Linked DNA regions of Homo sapiens: region 2 is linked to region 1. The links are contacts of gene promoters, found by promoter capture Hi-C in blood cells and fetal thymus (Javierre and others, 2016). All regions are on one chromosome and are shown on one strand. The core of a region is centred on a gene start or on the middle of the fragment in contact, and the rest is flanking DNA. Distances in the headings are between cores, read along the strand shown.

What was found. Contacts are between HindIII fragments. The CHiCAGO score rates a contact against its expected background, and 5 or more counts as called.
Region 2: a contact is called between a fragment that was not itself captured here and the fragment with the promoter of SORCS3 in region 1, in 2 of 17 cell types (M2 macrophages and M1 macrophages). The highest score is 6.6, in M2 macrophages.

What each region holds. Positions count from the first base shown.
Region 1 is chr10:104,639,607-104,643,589 of GRCh38, forward strand. It overlaps SORCS3 (sortilin related VPS10 domain containing receptor 3), which reads left to right and starts at 1,684. Exons shown (of 27, transcript NM_014978.3): 1 at 1,684-2,348. The coding sequence starts at 1,722. The HindIII fragment of the contact is 3,039 bases long and covers 1-2,091 here.
Region 2 is chr10:104,408,445-104,412,427 of GRCh38, forward strand. All of the region lies in intron 15 of CFAP58 (cilia and flagella associated protein 58), which reads left to right. Among named protein-coding and RNA genes, the nearest start is that of CFAP58, 57 kb to the left of the region's middle. The HindIII fragment of the contact is 5,900 bases long and covers 1-3,983 here.

The DNA.
Region 1 (3,983 bases), core at 434-2,933:
GCCTCCTCCCTCCTGCCTCCTCCTTTCTTAATAGCTCCTCCTCTAGCTCCTCTAGTCTCAGACTTTTCAACCCCTAGAATCCCAGGGGCTTCTCGGAGGCGGCGAGCTACACCACATGTCCTGGGGCCTGTAAACCGCAGCTCGAGGTCGTCTGTGGGTTTAGCTCATTTCCCTTCAGCCCACCTGAAGTCTCCTTCTTCCTACGGTCACGAAGGATCTCAGCTGCACCAAGCGCGCAGGCTACACTCCTGCAGTAGCGGATTGGGGACCAGATAAGCCCACGCGGCTCCCGCCTGAGTACCCTCTTAACTGGCGGCCGACACTTTGAAACAATTGAGTCCGTTCAGAAACGGACTGGGGAGAGTGAGGGCACGACCTCAAAATCCTAGGCAGCAAAATGAGGTCTGGATCCTCCCTGGAAGAACAGACATCTCGACTACTCTCTCGCCCCACCTCTGGCCGGGAGGTCGGGGCAAGGAGAATCCCTCAACCGAGAAGATCTGGCAAGTCCCCGATCCCACCGGGGCCTTCCGCCTCTTTTCCCTCATCCCCTAGGAGGCTTTATCAGGTTCTAACCGCTTGTAGTGGGGGCCGTGGGTGCTCGGGGCGCCAAGAGGAGGGGGCTGCCGAGAGCGGCCTGCCTAGTTCTCAGCATTGCCTCTTTGACCACTCGCAGGCTCCTGGAAATGCAAACACAGCCCGTGCGTGATCCGCACGCGACCAAAAGCCGAGCGCACACCTCCCGCCCCCGCCCCACTTGCCATCGCTCACACTAACGTGCACACATGCTCGTGCAAACGCGCACGCACGGAACCGCGCGCCCCCTCACACCCAGCCGCGCTCCCGGCCCGGCTCAGCCAGGTGCCCCCACGCGGCAGCGCCCGGTCTGCCCGCCGGCCCCCTGCGAACCCCTCGCCTCACGCCCGCCTGCCTGCGCGCACGCACGCGCACGCACGCATTCCCCACGCCCCCGCGCGGGGGCGCAGGCCTTGGGTGGCGGGGTTTGGCCGGGAGCCGGCCGGGCCAGGGAGCGGCGAGCAGAGTCCAGGGTGCATCCCGCGCTTGGCTTCCGTGCGCAGCCTCCCCGCGCGGAGGCACCTGGCTCCCTCTCGGCTCTAGAACGCGAACAGTTGGCGTTGAGCACACAACTCCTCCTCCTTCTCCCCCGAGACCCCTGTACCCTCCCCGCGCGCCATCTCCCGCCCCTCATAACAGGCCCGAAGAGTAAACCCCCAAACGCGTCCAGAAGCGGCTCCCAACTCTTCGCCGGGAGCACGTTGGAGGCTGGATTTCGGAGAGACTCGGGATTGGGGTCTATTGCCGGCCCCTCCTGGATCCGGCTTGATTTTCATATTTTAAGAAGATTTTCTTATTACCTTTGATTACTCCTTTTTACCAAATTTCTGGAGGAGCTCAGTGGGGAGGATTGGGGGGAATCTGATTTTAAGAAAGAAAGCACCGAAGGGGCAATTATTAATTTTCCTCGGGTTTGGAATCACCCTCTGGACAAGAGAACGGGCGAGCGGGAGCTAGGAGGGAAGAGTGGAGAGGACCGGCGAGGCGCGCCAGCCGGAGCCACCTCCTTCCCGGCCGCCCCCTCCCCACTCCCCCTACACACACACGCTCGCTCGCTCGCCGGCGCGCGCACACCCCCCGCGCCGGACCCGCACCTCGGCGGGCGCCACACACTCGGCAGCCCGAGCCGCGGTAGCCGCAGCGGGATGGAGGCGGCGCGCACGGAGCGCCCCGCAGGCAGGCCGGGGGCGCCGCTTGTCCGGACGGGGCTCCTACTCTTGTCGACGTGGGTCCTGGCCGGCGCCGAGATCACTTGGGACGCGACAGGCGGTCCCGGACGCCCGGCGGCCCCGGCTTCGCGGCCACCGGCGTTGTCTCCACTCTCGCCGCGGGCAGTGGCCAGCCAGTGGCCGGAGGAGCTGGCGTCGGCGCGGAGAGCCGCCGTGCTGGGGCGCCGGGCCGGACCAGAGCTGCTGCCCCAGCAGGGCGGCGGCAGAGGCGGTGAGATGCAGGTGGAAGCCGGAGGGACATCACCGGCAGGCGAGCGGCGGGGCCGGGGCATCCCAGCTCCTGCCAAGCTTGGCGGCGCGAGGAGGAGTCGCCGGGCGCAGCCCCCAATCACCCAGGAACGCGGGGACGCCTGGGCCACTGCTCCGGCCGATGGTTCCAGAGGAAGCCGTCCCCTTGCTAAGGGTTCCCGGGAGGAGGTGAAGGCGCCGCGGGCTGGGGGGTCGGCGGCTGAAGACCTCCGGCTGCCCAGCACCTCCTTCGCGCTGACCGGGGACTCGGCCCACAACCAAGCCATGGTGCACTGGTCGGGACACAACAGCAGCGTGAGTACCCACCCGGCGGCGGGTCCGCCTGTTTCCTGACACCGAAGGGGAATGGGGGGGTGGGTGGGAGCGAGGGACAGATAGTTGCTCGGGGGTCGAGGCGGGGGACGCCTCGACTTTTCGAGATAACAGGTTTGTCCGATTCCCCCCACGCCCCCAACAGGTTAACGGAGTTTGTTGTTAGACGCTGTGTGTGTTTGTTTACTGGAGACCCTAGGCTTCGGCCGCCGGGAGGGGAGTGGAGGAAGGGGCTTCTTAAAGATGAGTGGGGGAGGGATCTGTGCTCACTTTCTCCAATACTTGGCTTGGAGGGTCAGTTTTCCTGTTTGCGGGGTGCTTGAATTCTTGGATGAGAAAAAGGGCTGACTTGGGGCGGGAGCCGCTGAACAGACCGATTCCTGCGGCTGCCGGGCTCCCCCTACCCCCACCCCACCCCCACCCCCCCTCCCGTCACGCGAAAGGGAACCCGGAAGGCCATTCGGACTCCCAGCCTCCTGCTCGCCTCGGGGTCGCTGCTATCCGCTCCAGGCGCGCAGTCCTCCAGCCCAAGAGGGAGGCTCGGCCAAGTCGGCCCCCAGCCTTGGCCTTCAGGTAACCCCGGTTCCTCCTTCAAAGTCCAGGGAGCGGCCCTGGAAAGCCGTAGCAGAGGCCGTAAAAAAAAGTTTAAAGCGTGAAGCGAAATTCCACACCCATCCAGCGCTCATGCCACACCGCTCGCCCTCACGCACGCACAGGCACACGGAAGTCGCTCAGCAGAAAACTCTCGACTTCACCATTGCGTCCTGCGCCACAAACGGCTCCCTGAGCGGAGTTGGGTGCCTGAGCTTCCTGCACACCTCTCCACCCGCTTTTCCCCGCCACCGGGTTCTCCTGGACAAGGATGTACCGAGAGGTGGCGTCGTTGAGCCCGGTCTGGCCTACTCCGGCATTCCGAACTGGGCGCCCGACTGAGCATCGCGCCTGCCTGGCAGCTGCAGCGGCCCGCAGCGCGTGCCCGGAGGGGCTCCCCCTACCTCGCCGGCACCCAGCGCTGTGCAGCCAAGCAAAGAAAAGGCGGGGGACAGGTTCCCACCATCTCCCCGACTTCCCTCCCTCCCGCGGTCCCTACTAGAGCCAGATTTGGAAAATCCTTTCCTCTTCTCTGGCTCCATGGTTCAGATCAGAACCTGGCGTTGGGTAGGGTGCACGCTCCAGGCGGAGGATGACGGGTGTCTGTACAAGCAGCCTTGGGGAACTGATTTGATAGGAACTCACCCCGCAACTCCCTGCCGTTTTGTATTTCTCTTCATGACCGGTGTTTGACAAAATTTCTCTGGGAAATTTTTGCCTTATTTTAACAGAGCCTGGGATGTCCAGGATTGGGTATCTAATAAGAGGAAAGCGAGGGGTCCGCAGAAGGTAGTACATAAGCAATACCAAAGTGCAGATTTCTTGGTTTCTAATGATGCACAGCGCGGGCAGCCCAGCCTGGGTAGCCCATGCTGGTCTTGAAGGACCAGTGAAGTCCAGCTTCGCAGCAGCGCGATGGCGGGCTTCATCTGCCTGGGATGAAGACCCCCGTAGCCTCGGGCTGACAGCTCTGGCGAGAGGGGTGGACAATGTGTGCCTTTGCAGGGCTGGGTGATTGAAGACTTC
Region 2 (3,983 bases), core at 403-2,902, 230 kb before region 1:
CAGAGTTTGCTGTTCCACTGATGCTGGCCACAAGTCATTTCCCAAGTCTGTGCAGCTGGTTAAGTGCTAGGGTGGGACTTGGTCCCGGCAGTCACTCCAGAGCTCATGCTTTCTACTTCCTTGTGTGTTCTGTTATCACCACTTTGTTAGTTTTAAAAAGAACCAAATCTTATGTTTGCCAAGCATCTGTATTATAAGTTTGTTTTATATTTCATGGACTGCTCTAACTTTATTATTTCCTTCCCTCTATATACTCTGGGTTTACTGGGTTCTTCTACCTTTTTAAGGTTAATGCTCAGCTCATCAATGTTCAGTCTTCTCTTCTAATATAAATATTTCAGTTATAAAATGTCTTTTAAATAATTTATTTAGGGTTGGGTGCAGTGGATCATGCCTATAATCCCAGCGCGTTGGGAGGCCAAGTGGGGGTGGATTGCTTGAGCTCAGGAGTTTGAGACCAGCCTAGATAACATGGCAAAACCTTATCTCTACAAAGAATACAAATATTAGCCAGGCGTGGGGGCGTGCACGTTTAGTCCCCACTACTCAGGAGGCTGAGGTGGGAGAATTGCTTGAGCCCATGAATTCGAGGCTGTGGTGAGCTGTGATTGTGCCACTGCACTTCAGCCTAGGTGACAGTGTGAGACCCCGTCTCATAAAAAAAAAAATTATTTAGTTCCTTTCCACAGGTTTTGATATGGGGAATTTTCATTTAGTCCTAAATGTTGTATATTTTCAGAATTATTTCTCCTTTGACAGTAAGTCTTAATAAATATTCACTATTTCTCCTAATCATAATTAGGAGATATTTTATAATATTTTAGGATAATTAAAAGTGTATTTTAAATTTTCCAAATATATATGTATTTAAGTTATCTTTTACTTACTGATTGGTCACTTTTCTGCATTGTTGTCTGTATTATACAGATTCTTTGGAATTTGTTGAACTTGATTTGTGACCAACTAAGTGGTCAGTTTTTATACCTGACGCCTGCTGTTTGAAAAACATACATACTCTCTAAATGCTCTGGGTTCAGTGTTCTCTGTTTGTTCGTTAGATCAACCTTGTTAATTGTATTGTCCACATCTGTACTTTTCCTAATTTTCTGTCTGCTTAATCACTGAAAAAAGTTTGGAGATTTGTCTTATTTCTCCTTCTCTCTGACATTTTTCGCTTTAAGAACATTTTAGATCATGATAAGGTGAGTATAAGATTATAATTTTTATTTCTTCCTGCTTGAATTGCTCCTTTCGTATTATGTAAGAACTCTCGTAATAATATTTTTACTTACAAATTTGCCTAGTATTAACATAGCTCAATCAGCTGGATTTTGAAAAGTAGTTTTCCTATATTTTTACTTTTAAACTTTTGGTGTCTTTGTACTTTAGGAATATCTCTTGTAATTAAAAAAAAATCTTATCTTTGTGTTTAGTTTGTTTATTGATAATTTTAGGTTTATTTCTACCTTCTTATTTTCCCTGATTTTTTGTAATGCTCAAAAAAATTCTATCAGACTGAGTTTTCTTTATGTTCTGTTTTCCTGTTTACCAGTCTTCCCACTAACCATTACTACCTATTCCCTTTTTACAGTTTTTCTTTTACTCAACAGTTACCACCACTCAGTATAATATTCTCTCTCTGTCTCTGATTCCCTTAAATACATTATCTTAATTCTTTGTTTTTCTCTTTCATAGATTCCCTTAAAAATTCACCATGCATAGTTGACATCAAATCTAAAGTCTAAAGTTGATCAATATCTTTCTCCTTCTTACAAACAGTGTAAGGATTTGGAATGCTTTAACTGCAGCTACCCTGCTGTTTCCAAAATCAGCCATCACCACTATTATGTTATAGAGTCAATTTGTTAAGATTTACCAACATGTTTACCAGTTCTTTTGTTTTCTATTTCTACATATCTCCAATTCCTTACTTCTGGGTTCTGTCTCTTCCTTTTTGAAGTATATCCTTTCATAGTTCTTTAACCAATAGATTTTTCAATGGTTAACACTCTCCTTTGCTTGTCTAAAAATGTTTTTAATTTGGCCTTATTTGTAAATGATTAACTTGAAATGTTATTTCTATTAGCACTTTGAAGATGTTGGTCCTTTGTGTCCCCAGCTTCCAGTGATGTGACTGAGAAGTCTGCTGTACGTCTAATTGTTTCTGCTCCTTTTTAGGTGACCTGCCTTTTCTTCTGTTTGATAGTTAGATCTTCTCTTTGCCTTTGATGTTTCAGAGTTTCAGCACAACGCATTTGGGTATTAATTTAGTTTTGCTTACTATGTTCAGAACACACTCCATTTCCTGAATCTGAGGGTTCCTGTGTCTTCGAATAGTCTCTTCTTTAGTGTCTTTATTCACTCCTCCTGGAACTCTTATTAGAAGTACGTTGGGTTTTCTTATTCTTTTTTCCTATTTACTGACCTAGTTGATGTTTTTCTTCTCTTTAACTCTTTGTTACATTTTCTTAGCTTTATCTCTATTTATTTATTTATTCATTTATTTATTTTTTGAGATGGAGTCTCACTGTGTCACCCAGGCTGGAATGCAGTGGTGCAATCTTGGCGCACTGCAACCTCCGCTTCCCAGGTTCAAGCGATTCTCCTGCCTCAGCCTCCTGAGTAGCTGGGATTACAGGCATCCACCACAACGCCCAGCTAATTTTTGTATTTTTAGTAGAGACGGGGTTTCATCCTGTTGGCCAGGCTGGTCTCGAACTCCTGACCTCAAGTGATCTGCTGGCCTTGGCCTCCCAAAGTGTTAATCTTAATCTTCTTGTTCACCAGTTCTTTCAGTGTGCTTATCTGCTAATAGTCAATCCACTGAGATTTTATTTTCAATTATTTTATTTTTATTTTATAGAGACTCTTTTTCACATATGCCTGGTTTTTGTTGATAGTTTCTTGATCTTTTCTCATGTTTTACATCCTTCCTTTATGTCCCCAATTAATTCAAAAATTTATTTTATAGTCTTAATCTGAGTGTTCTATTATTGAAGTTCTCGAGGGGTTTTCCTGTTTGTTGTGACTGCTGACTTTCACTCATGGTGGATTTTTCTTTTTGTGTTTTGTGATTTTGGATTGTGAACTCATTTTCAGAAAGCCTTTATTTGGGGACTTGGGAATGGTTCAGGTTAAGGGTATGTCCATTCATTTGTTTCTGCCAGGTGCCTTAGAAGGTATCATTTGCTTAGAATAATTTTTTTTTAATGTTAAATTCTCACTTTGGGTTTCTTGGACTACTTGGCTAACATATACTAGAACCTCAAACTCTTGTGACAGAAGATGAATGGATACAAATTCTTAGGGAAGCAACTTTTTTTTTTTTCCCCCACCCAGAGCCCAGGAGAGATAGTTAGGTTTCCTTGTGGTCTTCCTGTCCCAGTGGGTAGATTTCTATTGTATCTTTTTGCCAAGGGTGAAACTTTTAAAAGTCACTAACTTTATGCTGAGGAATCTTAGTACTAACACCCACTTCACACAGGCCCAGCACCTTATCCTTTGCCTTCTTGTGGCCACTAAAATCCAGGCCCTTTGTTCAGCTATCCCTCAGGGGAGAGCTGCAATATATATCTATTCACTGTTCTAACATGCAGTTCAGGCTTTGATTTTGACACTTGAGCAAACTAATTGAAAATTCTGTTTTGTGATTAAAACTCATGCTGAATTGTTTTACTCAGCATGTCTAATGCTTTGTGGACATTAGTTTTCATGTTATTTAGTCTGACATATTGCCATAAACAGAAATCTCTTATTTGCTTGACTCACTAGTTTCTTCATCCATAAGTTGGGGACAATAATAGTACCCATAGAATTGTGTTAGTTCACATAAAAGTTTAATAGAATTCTTAGTTCTCATTAACAATGTTATTAATAATAGTATTATTATTAATATCATTAATTACCAGCACAGTTTTTCCAGGCCTCCAAAGTTTAATGTCCTGTCTCAATCCCTTTTAATCAATTCCTTATTTAGCGTTTGG